Linked DNA regions of Homo sapiens: regions 1, 2 and 3 are each linked to region 4. The links are contacts of gene promoters, found by promoter capture Hi-C in blood cells and fetal thymus (Javierre and others, 2016). All regions are on one chromosome and are shown on one strand. Each heading gives the region's core, a stretch centred on a gene start or on the middle of the fragment in contact. The rest is flanking DNA. Distances are from core to core; before and after follow the strand shown.

Region 1 (2,700 bases), core at 12-2,511, 220 kb before region 4:
CTGCTTGTCCTCTACATGCTTCGGCCTTCCCCCCAAAGACACCTGGCTTATGCTTGCCAGTGCCGACTGACTCACTGGCACCCCAGGCCTGGGGCCTGATCCCAGGAGCACACCCTACAGGCCCAGCGCTGGGGGCTTGGGCTCTGCTGCACAGCGATGATGCCAAATTGCTGTGTGACCTCGGGCAAGTCACTTCTCCCCGCTGCACCTCAGTTTCGTCATATGGAAGACAAGCGGACCCACCTCCCAGGGTTGTTTGCAGAGATTAAACGGAGGCGTGCCAAGCACAGTGCCGGGTATGGAGGGGGAGCTCAGGAGAGCTGCCACGTGAGCTGGGGAAGCCAACGACATGATACATCTGGCTCCCTCCAGCCCTGACAGCCTGCGATTCTGTGATTCCGAGATCCTAGAATCATGGCACGAGATTCTGAGACTAACGCCCCTGCCCCTGCAGCCGACCGGGAGGTCACAGGAAGGCCTCCCTCCTGCCTCCCTGGGAGTCCCCACCCTCTGCCTCCCCAGCCCCAGCCTCCCAAGTTCATCCTGGGCAGAGGATGGGCTTCCAGGACCCCACCCTTCGGGACATCATCCGGGCCCCAGCCTCCTTACCTGCCCATGGGGTGAGGGCTTCCCTCCTTGCCGCCAGGCTGGTTATCATTCTGCTGTCCCCTCTCCCTGCCCAGTCCCCAGGTGCCCCCAGGGCACTCCTAACTAGGGTCCCCACAAGGCACCCACTTCTAGACCGCTTGCGGGCTCAGGTTCCCTCCCAGGCCCTCGGCCACGGCTGTCCACAGAGCCTCTCCCATCTGGTCTCCGGCCCTGACTTCCCAACCAGAGCCTGGTACGTCACCCCCCATCTCCAGGACACATCCTGGGGGGGCAGGGGCAAGGATAGGGGGGAGAAGCTTCCCAGGGTGAGGAAGAGAAGAGGGGAGCAAGGGACACAGAAGCCAATAGAAATAGAGGGGAAAGGGGGTCGGGAGGAGGTGGAGAAAGAGAGAGAGAGAGAAAGAGGGAGGGGGAGAGAGAGAGAGGGAGAGGGAGAGGAGACCGTGAGTAGGAGGAAAGGCAGAATGAGGGGGAGTGATGAGAGATGCGTGACAGGGAGAAGACGAGAAGGAAAGAGAGGAGAGGAGACACGGGTGAGAGGGAGAGATGCAGAGAGAGGCAGGAGGGAGGAAGGAGAATGAGGGGGTGGCAGGGAGAGTGACAGAGAGGGACTGTGCCACAGATGGTGACATGGAGCCCGTGAAGGAGGGAGTAAGCAGGGAGGGGCTGAGGGCCGGAGAGCAGGTGTGGGGGGTGGGGGCGGGGTGCAGGTTAAGGGAGGAGGCCCGGAGAGGGAGCAGGAGGGGCGCAGACCCTGTTACCGGGGAGATTTCAGCCACCCACGCCCGCTGGCCTTGGCTCCTGCAGGGAGTTGGAGAGAAGAATGTGCTCAGTGCTCAGGGGAGCCGAGGCTGCCAGCCAGTAGCCAGAGCAGCTCGTGAGGCCACTGCGGCACAGGTCCCCCGGGGCAGCAGCTGTGTCCCAAGGCAAGGCTGGGTGTGGGGCTGGCCAGCCCGGGAGTCCACAGTCCAGCCCTGCAGTCGGGCACACCGGCCGCAGCACGGACCACTGGGGAGGCCGGGTGGGGGTCATTAGTCCTGGGATTGGTTACATCTGGAGAGCCCCAGGCAGGGTGAGGAGTGGAAGGACAGAACAGAGAACCAATATTTTAGGCTTTGAGGGCAAAATCATTGTGCAGTGAGAAAACAGATTTTTACTATTTTGTAACTGACAAAACTCAAAATAGAATAATAATAATTGAGGCCAGTATTTTGTAATGTAGGTCCACTCATGAGAAGAATAGAGTTCTTTTTACAGACATCACCTTTTGCTTAATTGGAGTTTAGAGTTAGTGTTTCATCAAACCGATTGCAAATGTTCATCCGTAAAAACCATTCTCAGCTCCTAGGCTGTACAAAAACAGGCAGTGGGTGGGATTTGCCCCGTGGGCCATATTTACTGATCTTTGGTCTAAGAGACTCTGCCGTACAGTCCTGAGCACAGGCCCAGATGTCTTGGGATGCCGTGCCCCTGCCTGTGCTGATTCCTGCCTCAGCACAGGAGTGATAAGGAAAGGAACAGTCAGAGACGGAAGGGAAAAGGACACACGTCTTGGCTGAGCACCTACTATGTGCCAGGCTGTACCTAGGCTGCTTTCCAAACTGGGCCATTCCCTGGGACCAGGGCTGGACCTCCTTTGTCACTAGGTACCTGGCACTGCAGAGAACTGGAAGTTGAATGCATCCAGAGGTGCCACCATGCATGCGGCAGCACACAGTAGGACACACCCACTTCCAGCCGGAGCCGGCCTGGTCTCTTAACGCTGCCCGTCCCTTTGCCTTGTGCCCGGGACAAGGCCCTTGCTCCAGGTCTCAGCCTCCCATTGTCCTTGTCCGTACAAGTTCATGAGGTGTGGGTGGGCTCCTGGGAGCGTGTCCTCAGGGTCAAGGGTGGGTTTTCCATGGCACTGACCACCCACCCCTACCCACGGCTTCTCACTGCCCTCAGAATAAAGCTCTCTCGCCGCAGCCCACCTGGCACTGCATCCTTGATTCCTGCCGCCTGCGCGGGCCTCCTCCTCTGCTGATTTCACTCGCTCCTCTGTGCCCCAGGCGTACCCAGCCTCATGTATTCATTCACTTATTCCTGCAG
Region 2 (2,700 bases), core at 72-2,571, 180 kb before region 4:
GTATATGAATGTATTGAAATGTTATTTATCCAATTCATGCAGATAATGACATTAAATACATATCACACAAAAACTAAAAACAGTCAATATATCGCCACACCCTAAATTCTGTCCAAAGTGTGTAAAGACCTACTCATATTTATTTCGTTTTTCCTTTTTTGAGACAGGGTCTCACTCTGTTGCCCAGGCTGGAGTGCAATCATGGCTCACTGCAGCCTACATCTCCCGGGCCAGGATTTGTAAGTGGCTTGCAATGTTTGCACTACAAACGATTCTGCTGTGAACATCCATGTGCTCCTGGGCTGGTGTGTGAGGTTTAGCATACACACACATATCTTGCACTTCAACGGACAGTGCTACGCCCATCTCCAGGGGCCTCCTCGTCTACTCCCAGCCCATGCTTGGCCTGTAAGACTTCATACTTTTGCCAGCTAGATGGGTGTGAATTGGCATCTCACTGAGGTTTTAATTTATATTAACTGATTCCCAGTGGTATTAAGCATCATTGTAAGTGATTACTGGACCTTGTGTTTCCTGTTCCATAAATTGCTTTTTCTTCACTTTTCTCCATTTCTCTATTGGAGCATTTATCTATTTTATTTTATTTATTTTATTTTATTATTTTATTTTTTGAGATGGAGTTTCACTCTTGTTGCCCAGGCTGGAGTGCAATGTCGTGATCTCGGCTCACTGCAACCTCCGCCTCCCAGGTTCAAGCGATTCTTCTGCCTCAGCCTCTTGAGTAGCGATGATTAAAGATACACGCCACCATGCCCGGCTAATTTTTGTATTTTTAGTAGAGATGGGGTTTCACCATGTTGGCCAGGCTGGTCTCAAACTCCTGACCTCAGGTGATCCACCCACTTCTGCCTCCCAGGTAGTGCTGGGATTACAGGCGTGAGCCACTGTGCCAGGCCCAGTATTTATCCTTCTCTTACATTTATTTGGAGAAGCTCTTTGCATATTCTGATTTTCATTTGAATTGCTAGAGGCATTTCATACTTTCTTCCAGTCCGTGGGATGTCTTTTAATATGTTGTGACATTTAATAGACACAATTTTTATCTGCATGTAGTCAAATTTCCACTTTCTCTCCTAATTGAGGTAGGAGGCAGGGTTTGACTCAAGACCAGACTGAGGACTAGCAGAAATGGGGACGAGGCGAAAGCACCTCTTCATGAGACATGCCCAGCAGCGCCATGTCAGTTTACCATTGCCATGGCAACACCCGGACGTTACCACCCCTTTCCATAGCAACAGCCCGGAAACTACCACCCTTTTTCTAGAAAGTTCTAAATACCCCACCCCTTAATTTGCATGTGACTAAAAGTGGGTATAAATATGACGGTGGAACTGCCCCTGAGCTGCTGCTCTCAGTACACTGCCCGTCAGGTAGCCCTACTCTGCAGGGGCACTCGCGCAGCTGTAACACTGCCACCTCCATAAAGCTGTTTTCTTCCACCGTCAGCTCAGCACGGAATTCCTTCCTGAGAGAACCCAAGAACCTTCCAAAGCTAAGCCCCAATTTGGAGGCTCACCTGCCCTGCATCATAATGACTTGTGTTTTTTGGAGTGAATCTTACTTAAAAATTCCTTTCCTTCCCCCAATTTCATGAAGACGAATATCCTCATTTTCTTTTAAAGTTTTGCTTTTCATAAACAGGTCTTGTCAGGTGCAGTGGCTCATGCCTGCAATCCCAGCACTTTGGGAGATGAAGGCACATAGATCACTTGAGCCCAGGAGTTTGAAACCATCTTGGGTAATATGGTGAAACCCCATCTCTACAAAAAATACAAAAATTAGCCAGATGTGTTGGTGCATGCCTGTAGTCCTAGCTACTCAGGAGGCTAAGGTGGGCAGGTCGCTTGAGCCTGGGAGGTCGAGGCTGCAGTGAGCCATGATCATACCACTGTACTCCAGCCTGGGCAACAGAGTGAGACCCTGTCTCAAGAAAGAAAAAAGAAAATAAATATGAGTAGGTCTTTACACACTTCAGACGGAATTTAGGGTGTGGTGAGATTATTGACTGTTTTTAGTTTTTGTGTGATATGTATTTTTTTATTATTGTATTTTATTTTATTTTTGGAGACTGAGTCTCACTCTGTCACCCAGGCTGGAGTGCAGTGGCATGATCCCAGCTCACTGCAACCTCTGCCTACGGGGCTCAAGCGGTTCTCCTGCCTCAGCCTCCCAAGTAGCTGGGATTACAGGCACGCACCACCACACCCAGCTAATTTTGTATATTTAGTAGAGATGGGGCTTCACCATGTTAGCCAGGCTGATCTCGAACTCCCAACCTCTGGTGATCTGCCCGCCTCGGCCTCCCAGAGTGCTGGGATTACAGGCGTGAGCCACCGCACCTGGCCTGTGTGATATGTATTTAACATCATTATCTCCATGACTGATTGTTCCAGAACCATTTATTGAGTAGCTCTGCCTGCTTTTTGCCCAGTAAGCTGTGGTCAAGCCATCTCGCATCTCACAGTTCCACTGCTATAAAGAAATATCTGGGAATGGGTAATTTACTAAGAAAAAGAGGTTGAACTGGCTCACAGTATCACAGGCCGCACAGGAAGCATGGTGGCATCTGCTTCTGGGGGGGCCTCGTGGTGGAAGGCAAAGTGGAAACAGACATCTTCCATGGCAAGAACAGGACCAAGGGGGTGAGAGGTGCCACACACTTTCAAACAACCAGATCTC
Region 3 (2,700 bases), core at 43-2,542, 150 kb before region 4:
CCTCTCCCAGCCTCCGTTTCCCATCTGTAAGATGAGGCCATGGAATCAGACCTCCTCTAAGCTTCTTCCATCTCTCTCGCCCTTGGGCCATTGGCATCACGTGAGGAATTCTGAGCTTTTGGACAAACAGAAGATGTTACCCAGATGGTTTTGCTATTATTTGATTCAGATGCTAGACCCTTCCTATCTCTCCCTCAAAGGAAGTGCAGGGAGTGGGGAGGGCAGGTCGGTGAACTTCTGAAATGTTTAAAGTGACGCTTGTACAAGCTGAGTGTGGGGATCTGAAGTCAGACAGTTCAGGGCTTGAATCTGAACTTTGCTTTCTCCTGGCTGCGTGACCTTGGGCAAGTGATTTAACCTCTCTGAACTCAGTTCCCTCATCTATGAAAGAGGGGTTGTAATAATGTAATTTGTTGAATGGTGGAAAGGGTTAAATGAGATGACAAGCACTTAGCACAGTGTCTGGCACTCCATAGCAGGCACTCCAGAAATAGCAGTGATGGTTTTTTTAGGACCTCCCAGATCTCGTGTTTGGAGACTCTCATTTGTTGTCCCAGAACCAACTGCGGATCCCCTGCCTGGTACACAGGTGGGAACCAGAGCCTGATGTAGCGCAGAAGGACTGATCTCAGGCCAGAAAGTTTTAAGGGGATTCCTTCCCGTTTTCATCCTTCCTCCTACCTGGAATTTAGACATGATAGCTGGAGATCAAGCAGCCACTTTGGACCATGAAGAGAATTTGAGGACAGCAGCCGAAAGTTAGAAGGATCCTGGATCCATGCCCAGGCTGCTACAGGGCAGCCATGTGTTGCCCACTTCAGGTTTCTTTCTTGTAAGAGATCAATAAACCTCTAGTTTCTTTAAACCATTATTATTATTTGGGTTTTCTGTTTCATGTAGGCAAACCTAACCTGAACTGTCTCCATTTTGTAGATGATTTTAAATGATTAAAAATGAGGCTCGGAGGGGAAGGAAGAAGATCACACAGCTCACAAGAGCTGAGTCAGGATTCAAATCCAGTTCTCTGTGACTCCCCTGGGTCCAGCTTCCTGCTCTCCTCATTGCCTGTGCTATTGGTTCCCAGCAAATCTTGCAGCCAAACCTGGACAAGGAGTGACGGAGAAAATGATGAAGTCAGTTCTGCTAAACTCTTTGCTGCTCACAGTGAAAGAGTCCCTCCCTCCCAGGCTGTCTGCATATAAGCCGTTAAACATGACCAGCGTTGTGGGAAAGAGGGAGGGGAGGTGTCATCACAACGGACCTCACAGAGGAGGTGGTATTTGAGGTATGTCTTAGAGAATAAGACAGTAACAATAGCTGAACCACACAACCGTGACCATCCATCAGACAAAAGGGAAGTGTCAGATGCCAAACCGTGGCCTGGTCAAGACACATTTACTGGATCAGCCGCAAGATCAGGCAGCCTTCCCCAAGGCCATCCCAGGTTCAGTGGTTTACTAGGTGGACTCCCAGGACTCAGCTCATGGTCATACTTACGGCTATGATCTATGGCAGTGAAAGGACTCAAAGCAGAATCCGCAAAGGCGCCGTGGCGAAGTCCAGAGGAAACCAGGGGCAGCTTCCAAGAGTCTGCTCCCAAAAGAGTCACACGGGACACGCTCAATTCCTCCAGCAACAAGTCGTGAAAGCACCTGTGAGATGGGATGCTGCCAGGGACGCTAGGCAAATAGGTTAGGCCCAGTAAGCCACTCTCATCAGTTAGGGTGGTGGGAGCCCTCCCCAAATCCAAGCTCCCAGGTGCCAGCCAAGGGTCAACTTTGCAAGCATGACTTTCTAAAGATAGCAGTCTCCGGCCTGCAGTGTGAAGTCTTTCTGCACAGGGAATTATATATACCTTTCTCCATATTTCTAGGGGTTATTTTGTTTGTTTTGTTTTTTCTTTTGTTTTGTTTTTGGAGACGGAGTCTCACTCTGTTGCCAGGCTGGAGTGCAGTGGCGCGATCTCAGCTCACTGCAACCTCCGACTCTCTGGTTCAAGTGATTCTCCCGCTTCAGCCTCCCAAGTAGCTGGCATTATAGGCACCCGCCACCATGCCCAGCTAATTTTTGTATTTTTAGTATAGACGGGGTTTCACCACGTTGGCCAGGATGGTCTTGATCTCCTGACCTTGTGATCCACCCGCCTCGGCCTCCCAAAGTGCTGGGATTACAGGCATGAGCCACTATGCCCAGCCCACATTTCTAGTTTTAAAATGGCCAAGGGCATGGTTTGTGGTGCCTCAGGCCCAAAGCAGTTGAGAAAAATCTAGTTTACCATGGAAATAATTGTAACAAGTTTTCCAGAAAAGAACCATGAGTTATACAAGAACCCAGGTGGAGGCAGGGCAGGGGAGAAGCAGCGGGGTTCAAAAATCCTGAGCACACTAGACGGGGACTTAGTAGGCCTGGCTTCTGGGCCTGAATTGGCACTCACTCAAGTTCCAACTTGGTCAAGTGTTTCCCAGAAATAAGCCTCAGTTTTCTCTCCGAGGAAATGACAGCATTGGATTTCTTCTGTATCAGCAAGCTTTGGCTGCATAACAAAGCATCCCAGAAGTTGGTGGCTTAAACCACAAAAATGTATTATTTCCCACAGTGCTATGGGTCAGCAGTTTGGGTGGGACTCCGCTTGATGGTTCTTCTTCTGGTGTCCCCTGGCCTCACTGATGAGGCAGCAACCAGGGGACAGCCAAGACAGCC
Region 4 (2,700 bases), core at 142-2,641:
TCCAGCCCAACACCTGCGTCTCAGCAAGGGACCAAGGCAGTGCCCTCCAGCCGCAGCTGCTGGGTGGGAGGAGTCCAGGGGGAAGGGGCACAGCACAGAGCCCTGAGCTGCAGAAAGTGCCGAGTACCACGTTCCTCCCCAGCTGAGTGCACGGTCAGCACCACTGTCCCCTTCTCGTCTCCCTCCTTGGGCACGCCTGACACACCATGGCCTGTGGCCTCTGTTTTGGACACAAGCTCCCCGAGTGTGCATGCACACGCGCGCGCGCGCACACACACACACACACATCAGCTCCCTTCCCTCCAAACATTCCGAGGAAATCCTGCCAGGCCACTGACAGTGTGCGTGTGTGCGCTTGTGTGTATACAGACAGAGAGCAGGGTCCACCCCATGTCCACACACACACGCACACACCACACACACACAGCACGCACAATCCTCTCCACATGCACACGGCGCCCCACCAGCCAACACACCCACCCCCTCCCCGTCCCCTGACAGCTGCTGGAGCCCACACACGCACGCACACACACACACTGGCACGCGCTCGCACACACACACAAACACACACACACACACACACCCGGCAGTGGCCCCGGCCCTGCCAGAGCTGCAGTGTCTGCGATTTATGCCGCCTCCCTGGGCTGCCTCCCTCCTTGTCCCTGGCCAGCGCCTCTGAAAGGGTCCCCACCCCCCAATTCTGGTCTTACCAACCCCACCGCCGTCAAGCCCCACCCTGGCCCCCCTTCCCCTAGAAGGCATCCACCCCGTCAACCCCTCTTACCAGCTAGAGGATGAATGCCTTGACCCGGCAGCACCCCGTGAAAGAGAGGGGTTAGGGCCCCCGATTCGAAAAGATGAGGGCAGAGAGGTGCAGTGTGGCACCGGCTGGCACACCGTCCACCATCGAGCCTCTGCACCACCCCCAGAAACGCTCACCTCACCGACCGTCCTCGGTGTCCTCCCACCGCCTCCGCCCACCGCCACCACCACCACCTCCCTCGCGCAGGGTGGTCCCCCGGGGGTCTCACGGGGATCCCCAGACCCAGGAGACACTGGGGGTGGCTCTCCCCGTCTCATCCCCCCTTCCGTGTCCCTCTCCAAGCCCCACCCCCACTGACGGAGGGGGTGCCCTCCGGCTCCAGCCCCGACTCCCACCGTCTCCCCGGTCGGTCGGTCGCGGCGCTCGGATCCAGAGGAATTCACTTACCCCAGCCCCAGCCGGGATCCGGGCCAAGCACCGCCTCCGGGAAGCGGCGGCCGCGGGGCCTGCGCGTGTGAGTGTGAGTGTGAATGTGAGTGTGAGCGCGGGTGTGGGTGCGGGGTGCGTGGCCGTGGGGTGGCCCGCGTGTGTCTGTGTGTGTGTCTGGGAGCGCGCGTGTGCGCGCAGACGCCGCCGCCCCCTCCTCCCCGCCGCCGCGCCTCTGCCCCTGCCTCGGCGGGGAGGGCGCCCGGGAGGGGCCAAGCGGCGCGCGTCAGGGACCGCGGCAGGCTGTGTCCGTCTGTCCGTCCCCGTCTGTCCGTCCGCCAGCCCGCCCGCTCCCGGTGCCCTCCGCAGGCCTTTCCGCAGCAAGCCCGCTCCCGCCCCCGAGCCGGCCGCACGCTCCACGGACACACGCGCGCTCGCAGACACACGCCCGCGGGGCTGGGGCCGCGCCTGGCGCCGCCGCTGCAGCTGCAGCGCCCGGGGAGGCGAAGGCGGCCCCACGGACCCGAGCCCCGGCCTGGCGGACCCCTGTCCCGGCCGCGGCCCCCTGCGCTGCTCACCCCGCGGGATCCGGGTCCGGGTCCGGGTCCGGCCTCCGCCAGCGCATTCAACAGCTGGGGGCAAACTTGCGGCGGGGCCGCCCGAAGTGCGCCTGGACTCGCCCTCCCCCTGGACTCCGCCTCCGCTGATGGGCCCCCTCTCCGCCTTGTACCTCCATGCCCTGCCGCCTGCGCCCTGCTGGTTGGTCCCGCGTTCAACCGCTGGCGACTGGGGAAGTGCGGCTGCTGCGTTCCCATTTTACAGGCCAGACAACTGAGGTTCGGAGAGGAGTGATTCCCCCAAGGTTACACAGGGAGCCTACAGACAGTATTAGACTTTACGCTCCCCTACCTTGTGCCAGGGCACTCACTGCCTTTCCCCACCCCTCCAGGAGTAGGTCCAAGGGATACTGGGCTCATCTGTAGCTAGAGAACCTTCATTAGCCTTCCAGAGGCCCAGTTCCCCGCCCCTTACGCCAAAGCCCCTGCCACCTGCTGCCACCTGCAAAGGGGTGGATGCTGGGAGGAGGAGGAGGAGGTGGAAGATGCAAGAAGCCTGGCACCCGGGGCCTATAACTTGGTGCTTGGGCATGCAAGCACCTCCTCCCGAGGCCCTGCGAGCTGCATGTCGGAGGCCTGCTGCCAGCAGGCCCTGTACTTCTCCATCACTTTTATAGGACCGCATGCACCAGCGCCTGTTCTCAGGTGTTGCACAGCAGATGAAGTCCAGGCTGCGGGAACTCCCCGTCGGGACATCTCATGCAGGTCTGGAATAAGGAGACTCCCCAGAAGAAGCCACTGCCTGAGCTGAATCTTGATGGATGAGTAGGAGTTGGCCAGCTAAAGAAGGAGGAGAAGGGTGTCCTGGACTCTGGGAACAGCATGTGCAAAGAGGCACAGAGGCATGAAACAGCTTTGTATGTGTGTACAGGGAACTCCACGGAGTTGGGTATT

Evidence for each region. The method cuts DNA at HindIII sites, captures the fragments that hold promoters and counts their contacts. A CHiCAGO score of 5 or more calls a contact.
Region 1: a contact is called between the fragment with the promoter of SSTR3 here and the fragment with the promoter of ELFN2 in region 4, in 14 of 17 cell types (neutrophils, monocytes, total CD8 T cells and 11 more). The highest score is 18.7, in neutrophils.
Region 2: a fragment that was not itself captured here is called in contact with the fragment with the promoter of ELFN2 in region 4 in 4 of 17 cell types (naive CD4 T cells, total CD8 T cells, fetal thymus and 1 more); the score reaches 6.4 in naive CD4 T cells.
Region 3: a contact is called between a fragment that was not itself captured here and the fragment with the promoter of ELFN2 in region 4, in 9 of 17 cell types (naive CD4 T cells, endothelial precursors, non-activated CD4 T cells and 6 more). The highest score is 9.6, in naive CD4 T cells.

Annotation. Positions count from the first base shown.
Region 1 is chr22:37,211,216-37,213,915 of GRCh38, forward strand. It overlaps SSTR3 (somatostatin receptor 3), which reads right to left and starts at 1,262. Exons shown (of 2, transcript NM_001051.5): 1 at 610-1,262. RefSeq lists an enhancer at 101-1,080. The HindIII fragment of the contact is 10,151 bases long and covers 904-2,700 here.
Region 2 is chr22:37,248,901-37,251,600 of GRCh38, forward strand. No RefSeq gene overlaps it. Among named protein-coding and RNA genes, the nearest start is that of RAC2, 6.0 kb to the left of the region's middle. The HindIII fragment of the contact is 4,143 bases long and covers 1-2,700 here.
Region 3 is chr22:37,278,374-37,281,073 of GRCh38, forward strand. No RefSeq gene overlaps it. Among named protein-coding and RNA genes, the nearest start is that of CYTH4, 2.8 kb to the right of the region's middle. The HindIII fragment of the contact is 2,466 bases long and covers 60-2,525 here.
Region 4 is chr22:37,426,088-37,428,787 of GRCh38, forward strand. ELFN2 (extracellular leucine rich repeat and fibronectin type III domain containing 2) reads right to left here and starts at 1,392. Exons shown (of 3, transcript NM_052906.5): 1 at 1,211-1,392. The HindIII fragment of the contact is 18,273 bases long and covers 1-2,700 here.